2 separate regions of the Homo sapiens genome follow, and region 1 is linked to region 2. The links are contacts of gene promoters, found by promoter capture Hi-C in blood cells and fetal thymus (Javierre and others, 2016). All regions are on one chromosome and are shown on one strand. Each heading gives the region's core, a stretch centred on a gene start or on the middle of the fragment in contact. The rest is flanking DNA. Distances are from core to core; before and after follow the strand shown.

Region 1 (5,976 bases), core at 1,125-3,624, 700 kb before region 2:
GCTGCTCACTTTTGCTCTTCTGTTTTCGTATAATCTGGGGAGGGGAGGACAAAAAAGGGGCAAGTTATTGGAGAGGCCTCCTGATGCTATGTGGAGTAACTGGGACCATCTTTGGAATTTTTTTCAGCCACTTATAAGCTTAATTTCAACAGAACACCAGGCTGTTTCAGATCTGCGCTATGAGAAACCAGCACAATTATAGCCTTGAGCATTCTAAGCATTTTACAGTTTACAAATAATCCTTTTATGATGTTAACAGCTTCTCTATTTATTAAGTGCCTAGCATGTGTCAGACCTCATGTTAGGTATTGTGTAGGCTTTACCTCACTTAATTCTGGAAGGTACATATTCTAATTCTTTCCATTTTATAGATGAGGAAACAGGCTCAGAGAGACTAAGTTATTGGATAAGGCTACACAGCTCATAAATGGTGGAGCTGGATCTCAAACCCAGAGCCTCTGGTTGTAAGTCCTGAATTTAGGAAGCATCTGGAAGCCCTATCAAGGGTGTAGACACCAAGAGTCACCAGAATGGCTCCAAATCCAGCTCGTTTGCACAGTCATTTGGATTTAGTGAGTCCATCCGTACCAAGGTCTCTGGGCTTTCAACTTCCTATAGGCAGGAAGCAGTCAAGAAATGTGCTAAGCCACCAAGATGGGCATATTCTCCAATGTTCCTTTAGGCCAGACAGGAGGATGAAAAGGAAGGCTGAGAGCCCAGAGAACAATCAACTGAGGTGCCATCTCCCATGGCAGGGTGGGGACCCAGCCATGTTGCCCAGCAGGATTTCAGAATTGCTGAGGACCAGTGACTGCCGGTGCCTCCCATTCTTCCCCTCTGCAGGTGGGTAGGGCCAGTGCTGCCTCCCTGTCCCTCTTCCAACATTGCATGTTGGGTATATGGGGGGAGATCATTTGTTTGCTTAGTTTACAGATCTCCAGCTAAAAAGGAGCTAAAATTGGATCAAATGTACTTTGAACTGTGATTGGATGAGACATTTGGGGGTCTTTGGGTGTGGTGAGTCTACTTGGCATACGGAAGGGATGTGAATTATCGTGACCAAAAGGGAAGACTGAAGTTTTTCAACACTTCCTGCATACGGCACTTTCTAGTGTGACTCTGCAGACCCTCCCAGTATAGGGAGAATCTACGTCCCAGCCCTTGGCTTTGGGCTCGATGTGTGACTTGCTCTGGCCAATGAGATGAGAGGGGGGAGTCAGTAACCATAAGCTAGAGCTAAGCCTTGGCCTTAACAAGCACTGTGTGCTTCCTCTTGCTGGCTTGTGCTCCTGTCATGGCCACAGGCAGCTGATGTGCCCTCAGTTGGGCCCCAGAGTGAACATGCTGCACCTGACTTTGTCCCAACCCATAGCTTGAAGTGCAGCTACTGCAGATGTGTGAGCAATAAATAAATTGTGGTATAACAAAACATATATACAGATAGTCCTTGATTTAAGATTTTTGGACTTTACGATGGTGGGAAAGCGGTGTGTGTTCAGTGCAGCATTCCATAAATTATATGAGCTAATAAACACTGTTATAAAATAGGCTTTGAGTTCGATGATTCTGCCCAGTTATAGGCTAATGCAAGTTCTGAGTACATTTACGATAGGCTAGGCTAAGCTATGATATATTAAGAGTAGGTTAGGTGTATTGAATGCATTTTGACTTATGATACTTTCAACTTAGGATGCGGTTACTATCTGGACTTAACCCCATCCACTGTAAGCTCAGGAGCATCTGTATTTGGTCTTTGTCCCCAGTTCCTGGCACAGTTTCAAAAACCTTTGCAATTATTTGAGTGATAGGAGTGTCTGTTACACTAACAAGGTGATTCAAGGTGAGGTCCTTAGATAACTTCAGGATGGGGGCAGGTTGCCAGAAAAACCAACTACAGTACATGATTAGAGGGCTGGGAGCAGAAAGACTAGAGAGTGCATTCAATCAGGTAATCAATCATTTAATCAATCCTGCCTACATACTGAAACCTGGCTAAAAACTCTGATACAACAAGGCACAGAAACCTTCCTTGTTGGTGCATACATCGATGTGTTGGGGGAGTGATGTTCACAGAGAGAGCATGGAAGCTCTGTACACCCTGTCCCCAGACCCTGCTGCTCTGTGTGTCTCTTCATCTGGCCGTTCACCTGTACCCTTTATATTAAACCGGTAATGGTAAGTAAAGCACTTTCCTGAGTTCTGTGAGTTCTAGCAAATAATTGAATTGAGGGTCCACGGTCATGGAAACTCCCAAATTTGCAGCAGGCTAGGGAGAAGTGTGGTGGCTTTGGGATACCTGAAACTTGTGGCTGGTGTCTGAAGTAGGGGCAGTCTTGTGGGACTGGGCCCTTAACTTGTGGGGTCTGCACTAACTCCAGGAAGAAGTTAGTATCAGAATGGAATTTCACTTCTCAGTTGGTGTTGGAGAATTGGCTGTGGAAGACAGAAAGATCCTTGTCAAAAGCCACAGAGTTTTGGGGTGTTTGGTTTCTCAGAAGTAATTGACAGGTACACCATGCAAGGGACAGCGTAGGGCATGGAGCTAGCAGCAGTGACTGCAAAGCAAGCAAGCAGTGCGATGCATTCCCTCTGCATGGGTCCCCAGGGCACAAAAGTCTAAAGTGAGAAGGCACAGAAGATACAGTGCTAGAGACACTCCCCATGTTTCACCTGCTACTTGCCAGAGTCCCTGCACCAGGCCCAGCCAGGAAACTGCAGCCATCCCACTGCCAGGACCCACCTACCTTCTGCAGGATTGTCGTGGCCAGTTCCTCAGTTAGCTCCTCCTTGTGGTCCCGCAGGTAACTGGCCTCATTTTGCTTGTCCTGAGGAGGGAAGAGAATGGCTGTGTGCTGTGGGTGGATTTGGGGTGACTTGGCAGTCACTTTGCCAGGAGAGTCCTGACCACAAAAGCAGAGGGAGGGCCTTGCTCTAGTCAGAGCTGCTGGGACATTGATTTCCTGACAACCTGCACTTTCTCCTGGCAGCAAGGACCCCAACCCACACCTCCCCCCACAGAGAGGAGCAGGAGGGGCCCTACCAGGCTGTCCCCATATGCCTCTGCTTTGGAAATTGCTTCCTCAATGGCCTCTTCAGCCACCCGTAGGGCCACAGCCAAGGTGTCCATCACACTATGTCCTAGACAGGAAACAGAACAAAGAGCATTTCTAAAAGGGAATGATGAGTAAAACGATTGTTCAAGCTCTTCTGCTTAAATTCTTCAGGGGCTCTGGGATAAGTTCTAAGCTGTTTACCATGGCACACAAAGCCCTCGCCCTTCCCACCTGCCTCACACTGCCTCCCATGCATCATTCACATCCCATGCCCCAGTTGCAACAAATTGTTTGATTCTTTCATGCCTGCAATCTCATTCCTCCTCCCTCCTAGACTCTTGCTCCATAACTGAGCTGGTTCCCACGGACCCCAAGGCTTGGCCCAAAAATTCCTCCTCTAACAAATCTTCTCGGATCCCTTCAGCCCCGCCCTTGGCTGGAGGTCTGTCCCAGGTTCTGGGCTTGCTTTCATCATCCAAAAAGGCTCCATACCCCCGGCCCCTTCCCACAGGTCATTTTCACAGAGCAAGAATTGATCATATTCATTGTTGTATCCTAACATGAAGCACTGGTCTAAGCACACAGAATGGCTTAAAGGTGACTGAACAAAAGGGCTTCATATAAGGAAATAATGGTTCTTTATCTACTTTCTCAGATAAAGATTATGCTTTATTTTGTTCATATAATGTATATTGTGATGATGGGGAAAATGTTATTAAATGTACTAAGGACAATGGGCTGTGCATATGACTTAATGCAAATATAAACTCTATGGTATAATTTTTTGGACTATCAACCAGTATTAACAACACTGGCCAACCTCAGAGCTCAGCCACATGGCAGGCACCAAGCCCAGAGTTTCACATGATCACAGTTAATTCTGACAAAAATCCAGTGGTAAGTAGGTGCCATATAGGTACTATTTTACAGATGGTAAATTTGAAGCACAGAGTGGTTAAATAACTCACCCAAGGTACACAGCAAGACAATAAGAAGGCAAAGATTTGAATCCAGCTGGATTCCAATTCCTCTGAATTTGAATTTGGATTCCATTCCAAATTCCTTCTAATCCAAAGCCCTTGATTTTAACCACAAAACTGAGATGAATACAAGCTAACGTGATTAAAAAATATAGTGCTACCATACTTTTAGTGAACTTTTTTTTTTTTTTTTTAAGATATGGCAACAAATGAGAGAAAATAAAGGACTTCCCCAGGTGACAAAGTTCTTTTTGGAGCTAAGTGCTGGGAAAAGTTCTGTTTCCCTTGAGATCCTAGATTTTAGCTTCTTACTTGTGAGAATTTCTATCATCCTTCTCTTAGTTTTCCCCAGAAGTCCAAGTCACATCATGTGCAGGAATGTAGGTCAGCAAGGGCTAGGTACCTGGGTCTCCTTGTCCCCAATTTCAACCTCCTGTTTCCATTTATAATCTCCTACTCATATATTATTTAACACATGCAAATCTCCTGTAAGCTGTTGAAAATTCTTTGTGGAATGAGACAGGGTGTGAATATATCAATTCATTAATTACTCAATTAAAAAATAATTCAAGCTTCTTAGGCTCTTAAGGACAAAAATGTAGACAGAAAGTATCATTTGGCAAACATAATAAAGCCTCTAAACAATCCACTTAAGGTCAAAGTGATCTAGCTAGCTGATGAGTATGTCACAAGCCAGCTATGACAGTCATGATAGAGCCACGTAGGGGCAACCCAGCCCAGGGCTCTGCACACCACCAGGTTGCACAGTCTTTCCAATGTTTTGATAACTAGAGCCTATGCGATATAAGTTGTCATCACACTAAGAGCTCCCTGGTGGTAGACACTGTATCTCCCCTCTCTCTTCTTCAAGATAGCCACCGATGTATTTTTCACAGAAAAGATCTACAAATTTTTGTTGAATCAAACAAATGTTTACTGAGTACCGTTTGTGTGCTAGGCTCTGTGATGGCCCCAGTGATAACCTGATGGACAAACTGAGTCCATGCTCTCATGTACCTTCCAAGATATTGGGTGATTAGACACATAAGTAACCCCTAAGAGATATGCATAACTATCTGTGTGATAGAGATATCTGTGTGGATCCCTGGAAGGTAGGCACCTGGAGCTGTAACTAGGAAGGCTTTGGATGCTATGATTATAATTCTTGGATGAAAGTGATGTGGAACACTGGGTAAAAAGTGAAGGTTCAGGTCAGTGTTTCAGAGAGAAAGGTTGGCAAGGGTAGGAGGGAAGATTAAGAAGGCAAGGTGGCCAAAGTTCAGAAGACCAGCTAGATGGTGGGATGGTCAATGTGTCAACGTGGCTAGGCTATAGTACCCAGTTATTTAATCAAACACTAGTCCAGGTGTTGCCATGAAGGTATTCTTTAGATGTGGTTAACATCTACAGTCAGTTGACTTCATGTAAGGGTTGCCCTCCACAATGTGGGTGTGTCTCATTCAATCCACTGAAAGGCCTTAAGAGCAAAAACTGAAGTTTCCTAGAGGAGAAATTCAGCCTGAAGGCTGAAGCACCAACTCTTGCCTGAGTTTTCAACCTGCTGGCCTACCCTGTATGTTGGGGCTTGCCAGTCCCCTGAAAGGAATATATATATGTGCATGTACATACATATATACTTAGTGTATTGGAGAACACTGCTGATACAGATGGCCACTGAAATTAACACTAATCCGGAGAGTTTTGAGCAGAGAGGTATGCAGGATATGGGCTGTGGAATGGAAAGAAAAGTGTAAGATTGAAAACAGAGCTGACAGGTACTTGGGTAGCTGTGGGGAAATGAGGAGAGGGACTGAAGGAAACATCTCTCACTGGTGGACCTCAGTGGCTAAAGAGCTTGACTAGGACAAGTTGGGGTTAAGAACCCTATAAGATCTTCAGGTGCTAATGGCCAAGCATTAGAAATCTGAGTGTAGAACTCTGGG
Region 2 (6,701 bases), core at 25-2,524:
ATGTATATATACACACAATGTATATATGTATATATACACACTCATATGTATATATGTATATATACACACACATATGTATATATGTATATATACACACTCATGTATATATGTATATATACACACATATGTAATATGTATACACACACATATGTATATATACACACACATGTATATATGTATATATACACACACATGTATATATGTATATATACACACACATATGTATATATGTATATACACACACATATGTATATATGTATATACACACACATATTTTTATATATACACCCATATGTATGGATACAGAGAGAGAGAAAGAGAATGATAAAGGAAATATGGTAAAACAGGAACATCTGGGTAATTTGGCTGCACCTGAAATTTTCTGTATTGTTTGCAACTTTTCTGAAAATCTGAAACAATTTTTAAAACTCACTCACCAACAAGTTTCCTGTCATTCTAAATACGAAACAGCATATCCGCACACCTGGCAGCAGCCTGCTCTCTGCCTCCCTGATTTATTCACAAAGAATTAAAAAGTCCTTTCCCCGTTTTCCTGCTAGTACTGTAGGCCAAGTTCATTACTCGCCTCCCTGACACATAATATTTTTTCCTTTCTCTGTCATCCATAGAACTGAAAACTCCCTGTTGTTTCTAAGATATTCTGTATCAGACAAAGCATTAGCGCCTTTCCATTTAAGGTTGTTGGTCTACAGGGGGCAGAATTCCGAAAAGATTTGGGCTTTGTTGTTCCATTAAGATCCCCCACACATAAATCCAACTGTATGAGGAAAAAAATTGTTCCTAGATAAGAAGAAAAACTCATTTTTAAATCATGACAAATAATAAAAGAAGAAATAAATTAAAAAAAAAAAAGCAGCAGCAGCAGCAGCATGTACTACCATCCATCTAGCTCCAGGAACATGGGGCTTTGAATCTGAGGAAATCTGAGTAAGGGCTCAGAGCCTCTCTCTGGGCTCAGACGATTTCCAAACATTAGCAGGAACATTCCAGGAGGCCCCCTGCCCACATCAGAATAAACATGGTGTCCTCTGTTCTTGTTTTCTCCATCCTTGTATGTCCTCTCAATCTTGACTATTCTTACAGAAAGTTTTCCCTGGGATATAATGAAATGGCCCATACAAAAAAGTACACTTGTCATTTAAAGATGAAAGTATAAAATGAAGTAAAATAAAAACCAATGGAATCCTCTTACCTTCAAATAGCAGTTGTTGTGTGAAACAGATTCTGCGTCTATACCAGGTCCCTGAGGGTTTGAGCCTACTTCAATGCATGCAGAATATATAGGGAGAGGTTATAGATCTGGGTTTTTCATTACACAAGGTGTTTTTGATGAGTCCTCAGCGAAGATCCACTTAAAAACAAAAGCTACACAAAGACTACAAAAAGGCCACACAAAGTTTAAACAAAAGGCTAAAGAAAGACCAAACAAAAGCCAAAGAAAGTTTAAACAAAGAGCGAAACAAAGATAAAACAAAGGCCAAAGACAAAAACAAAGAGCAAAAGAAAATCTAAACAAAAGCTAAGCTAAGCTATAACCATATCTCACACACACATACACACGCACCCCACATTCACTCTACAGCCCCCCAACATTCACATATTCCAGCCTCCCACCTCCCACATAATCAACACCCCATGTGAAAACTCACCCCTCAAGGTTCATTCCACATAAACTCCAGTTAAGTTCCATGCCAGGTCCAACCACACCACACACCAGCTCACCCTACCAAACCACACACCCTTCCACCAACATGCTATGCCACCACAGCGCCATCCCACCCAGCACCCCATACCTCACTCACACATCACAAGCCATACCCATAAGCCATGAACACAGCTGCAATCACATTGACAAATTCCAGGAGTTTTTATACTCCATGTAGATTAAATACCGATCACACTTCCTTCCCTAAAACACTCATGTATACCCATAGATACACCCCAAAACTAAAATTCACACAAGCATGCCCTTGTACACTTGATTAGCAAGAGTCTAATCCAGTCTAGTTACAACTAACATTGAATTTGGAAGTTTCCATGACAATTACCCTATGCATTCACATTTATGAAAACACGTATAAATCATCTCTTATGTTGAACAGTTTCTGCGAATGATAAATCTCATTCAATTAACATTTTATTGGCTTCAGTCTTAGACACCGGCATTTTCTTATAATTTTCCTAACCTAAAATGTGGGGCCACACCTTTCTGTGCTCTGTTAAATGCCATGGGTCCTGTAACTCTGCTTCTGCTATTTATTTTATATATGTAGAACTAGAACTACCCACTAATGATTTGAAAGATGAAAGCTTACTTCTGAAACCAATCCAACCAACAGCAGCCTTGCCTTTTGAATTCCCAGCGCCCCCTCCATGACAGTGTAATATAAATGTCAACATTACCACCAAGTTTCTCTTTAGGCTCTTGTCTCAGTAAAGAATCAGCCAGGGAACCTTGAAAAGGTAATCCAGTGAGACTACAAACATTGACTATAAATCTCTTTGTACACTAACATTTTTGTTTTTGTTTTTGTTTTGAGACGGAATCTGGTTCTGTCCCCCAGGCTGGAGTGCAGTGGCGCTCTCACCTCACTGCAACCTCCACCTCCTGGGTTCAAGCTATTCTTCTGCCTCGGCCTCCCGAGCAGCTGGGACTACAGGCACCCACCATCATGCCTGAATAATTTTTGTATTTTTTAGTAGAGACAGGGTTTCGCCATGTTGCCCAGGCTGGTCTCAAACTCCTGACCACAGGTGATCCGCCTGCCTTGGCTTCCCAAAGTGCTGGGATTACATGCTTGAGCCACCGTGCCTGGCCTCTTCGTATACTAACTTTATAGTTAATTAAACATTCTCTGAGTAATGAGTTATAGACGTATGCTGGTTGATTCACTCCCACTGTGATGCCAGTATTTTGCTTGTGTTGTACTGACTGTGACTGAGGGCTGGGGAGTAGGGTAAGATGGTTTAGAGCTTGAGCTCTGGAGGCACTGACACTAGGATCATCACAGGACCCACCTCAAGGATTTGAGTGAGGACTAAATCAGTTAATATGTGTTCACTGGTGGAAAGAATGCCTGGCACACAGAGTCCTGCACCAATGTCACTCTTATGGCCCTGGCCCTAAAGAAGGTTACCAACAGGGGTGGGTGGCAGTTGTAAGGACTTGTTTTCTATTCACAAAATAACTGGAGACTAATTCAGGCTATTTAAAAAATACAAGATCTAGTAGATATATTATAAAGCTCTATCTTTATTAAAAGACCCTCTGCTTCTCAAATCTTTCCAACAAAAGTTCTTAATGACACATTTTGGGGAAGTCCCATCTTTGATCTTCTACTCCACCATATATAGAGTGATATACAATTTACACAACCAAAGTATGGAGGTTCCACAAAATGCTTGTAATGCCATCTTTTTCTATTTCTACTTAAATGTTAGTGTTTGCCCTTAGTGCGGTGGCACCCTCACTCCCAGAACCACTGGGGAGGCCACGTCTGAGTCAGTGTCACTCTTCTTGAATGGCAGCCTGTGTTCCACACAGAGCAAGACCTCCCAGGACTCACAGTCACAATTAAGAAACTTGCTAACACTACAGAGGATTTTCCCACAGAAACTTTGGCTACAATTGACAATCCCCACATGTTATGAGTTAAAATGTGTCCCATCCCTCATCTCTCAAATTCCTTTGTTGAAGTCCTAACCCTTAGTATCTCAGAATTTGGAATGAGGCCGGGTGCAGTGGCTCACTCCGGTAAGGCCAGCACTTTGGCCAGGAATTTGAGACCAGCCTGGCCAACAGGGCAAAACCCCATCTCTACTAAAAATACAAAGAAATTAGCCAGGTGTGGTGGCATGTGCCTAACATTACAGAGGATTTTAATTCCCAGCTACTCAGGAGGCTGAGAATCGAGAATCGCTTGAACCTGAGAGGCAAAGGTTGCAGTGAGCCAAGATTGCACCACTGCACTCCAGCCTGGGTGACAGAGCAAGACTCTGTCTCAAAAAAAAAAAAAAAAAAAGAATTTGGATTCAAATAAGGATTTGAAGACAGACCACAGAGGTGATCAAGTTATGAAGTCATTAGGGTGGGCTCTGATGCAACATGACTAGTGTCCTTACACAAAGAAGAAATTTGGACAGAAAGACACATTTGGAGGGAGGACAATGTGAAGCCACAGGGAGAAGATGGTCATCCACAAGCCAAGGAAGGAGGCCTGGAACAGATCCTTCATTCACAGCCCTCGGAAGAAACCAGCCCTGCCCATACCTTGACCTCAAACTTCAAGTTTTGAGAACTGTGAGACAATTCATTTCTGTTGTGTACGTCACCCAGTTGGTGGTACTTTACTTCAGCAGCCCTAACAAACTAATACGCCACAGTGACAATAAGTACTATTTCAATTGGTTTCTACATTTATCAAAATAACACTTGTGCAAAGTTATAATAATATTAAAAGGCTTCTGTTGGAAAACAATAGTCCCTTATGCTGCCTCACCAGTCAACATCCCAGCCACCAGAGGCAACCATTTTAAACCTTTTCTTAGCTATCTTTTCTCTATTTATTTCCATATATCTAAATAATTCACACAAATAGCCATTTATATACCTATTTATGGTAGGTTATTGGTTTCCTCTTAAGGGTATAGTTTTCTTACATTCTACTTTTTCCTCTCCCTTTTCCCTTACCTACTGAATGTAGTTAGTATTTATATTATTATAAATATGTAAATATTATTTCCTTCAGAACCTTGTGATTAACTACAATTGTTTCCTTTCTTTGTACAAATTTCTTGTTCCTGGAGTTAATAATCACCCCATTTTTAATTTTATTCATTTATTTTAATCTGCTTAGTTTTAAATTTTACACTACATCCTTTTTTCCAAATATTCCAACAGATCTGTCAACTATCTGTTAATAATTTTTAAGCATTCCAATATACTGAATGATCTTTCACATCTATTGTCTTCTGTAATCCTCTGTCATCTCATTCAGATTTCAGGCTGGTTGCTCTGTAGACCCGGCGCAGCCCTGGCTCTTCCCTTCATTGCTTTGCTGGAAAGAGATCACCTTGTCCTGGATCCCATGCCATCCTCATCTTTGGTTTGCTCCCTCATTTTTCTGAAGCATGCCTTACAATACTTTTCCTAGAAAGAGTATATATTAAGTGAATTTTTCTAAGTGTTTGCGTCCCTGAAAACTCCTTTATTCTGCCCTCACACTTGATTGCCTGTTTGTGTATAGAATTCTAAGTTGAAAAGTATTTTCCCTTAGAAAAACAATGTGGATGATACATTGGTTTTCTGTATCTTCCCCTCCAGTGTTGTTTTTGAGGAGTTCCAGACCTTTCAGATGCCCACTGCTTTTTCTGTGATTTTTTGTAAGCCTCTGGAAATGTTCAAGATCTTATTTTGACCCCAGTTGTTCTGAAACTTCACCATTCAAAGTGAATGTTTCTTCATCCCCACTTGGTGGAGCATTTTCATCTGGAAATTCACAAAATTCCACTCTAAAAATTCTTCCTTTTTGTTGCTGGTTTTATTAATTCATTTTTCTCCATTCTCTTTCTTGTTTCTGAAATTTCTGTTATTTGGCTTTTGAACGATCTAAATTGATCTTCTAAATTGTTACTCATTCTTCTCTTTCCTAGTTTCCAATTCTTTGACTTCTTGTTTTACCTTTCATGAAGTTTTCTTATTTTATTTATTATAACCCTCTTTTTGAATTTGATACTTCATTTTGACAATTATATTGTTAAATTTCAAGACTTCATTCTTGTTTGCTGACTTTTCTTTTCTCAAAGCACATAGCATTTTCTGTAAACTAGCAAACTAGGAAAACAGTAACTACTACACTGGGGGATGTTGCTTGGTTTTGGTTTTGTTTGTGTCTTTGTTAGTTTTGCTCCTAGTTTTGCTCCTTGCATTGAATCAGTTTGCTTACTCCACGTTTCTTCATCCTGGTTATTTGTTTCCATCTCTCCCCTTCTGACCAAAAGTTGTCCTCTTTATCTGGCGATCTTGCACTGTCCATTACTGCTTAATAGTCAGCCATTCAAGAGATAACTGGAGGCTCCAGGTACAAGGATGGGTTTGTTGCTGGAGAATGCAGTGGGTACCCATGTTGGCTTTTACAATGACGAACCTAGAAATATAAGTAGCTGGAGATTTTTCCATAGGGTCATTCAGTTTCTTCAAAGAAAAGCAATCTATTTTTCAGCCTGATAGAGGCAGGGAAGATACAGAAGTTTTAACACCGTGCTATTGATATTCTGTGATCAAAGTAGACAAGGGATCTGAGGGACCCACATGAGTGTTCCTCACTGTTCCTGAATCAGGAAATTTCTCCATAATAAACTTCCAGTGACCACAGCAAGTTAGTGCAATGACCCTGAGAGTCCATTCTGAGTGTGCGGCTTGTCTATGCCTGATCCTTGCTTTCCACTATACCTGGATGCTCCAAGTGTAGAGACCCTCAGCGTTTTAACAGATAACTTTTGATGTGCTTTTTTCTCAGGCATCGCTCCTGCAAGCACTCAGACTGAAACTTCCTCCACTCTGTTTACATCCTCCGTCCACTTTCCTAAAATTGTGTTATCATCTCTCATCTTGTTGTCTCCTTTTCTTTGGGAGTTAAAGTCGTTTTTAAAATGCTCTACTGCCTTTGTGGAGGAAAATA

The links. The method cuts DNA at HindIII sites, captures the fragments that hold promoters and counts their contacts. A CHiCAGO score of 5 or more calls a contact.
Region 1: a fragment that was not itself captured here is called in contact with the fragment with the promoter of MOBP in region 2 in 2 of 17 cell types (erythroblasts and M2 macrophages); the score reaches 6.3 in erythroblasts.

The regions. Positions count from the first base shown.
Region 1 is chr3:40,164,008-40,169,983 of GRCh38, reverse strand. MYRIP (myosin VIIA and Rab interacting protein) reads right to left here. Exons shown (of 17, transcript NM_015460.4): 6 at 3,041-3,138; 7 at 2,745-2,825; 8 at 1-34. Among named protein-coding and RNA genes, the nearest start is that of EIF1B-AS1, 140 kb to the left of the region's middle. The HindIII fragment of the contact is 4,467 bases long and covers 141-4,607 here.
Region 2 is chr3:39,462,253-39,468,953 of GRCh38, reverse strand. MOBP (myelin associated oligodendrocyte basic protein) reads right to left here and starts at 1,274. Exons shown (of 4, transcript NM_001393704.1): 1 at 1,214-1,274. RefSeq lists an enhancer at 974-1,656. The HindIII fragment of the contact is 9,372 bases long and covers 1-2,333 here.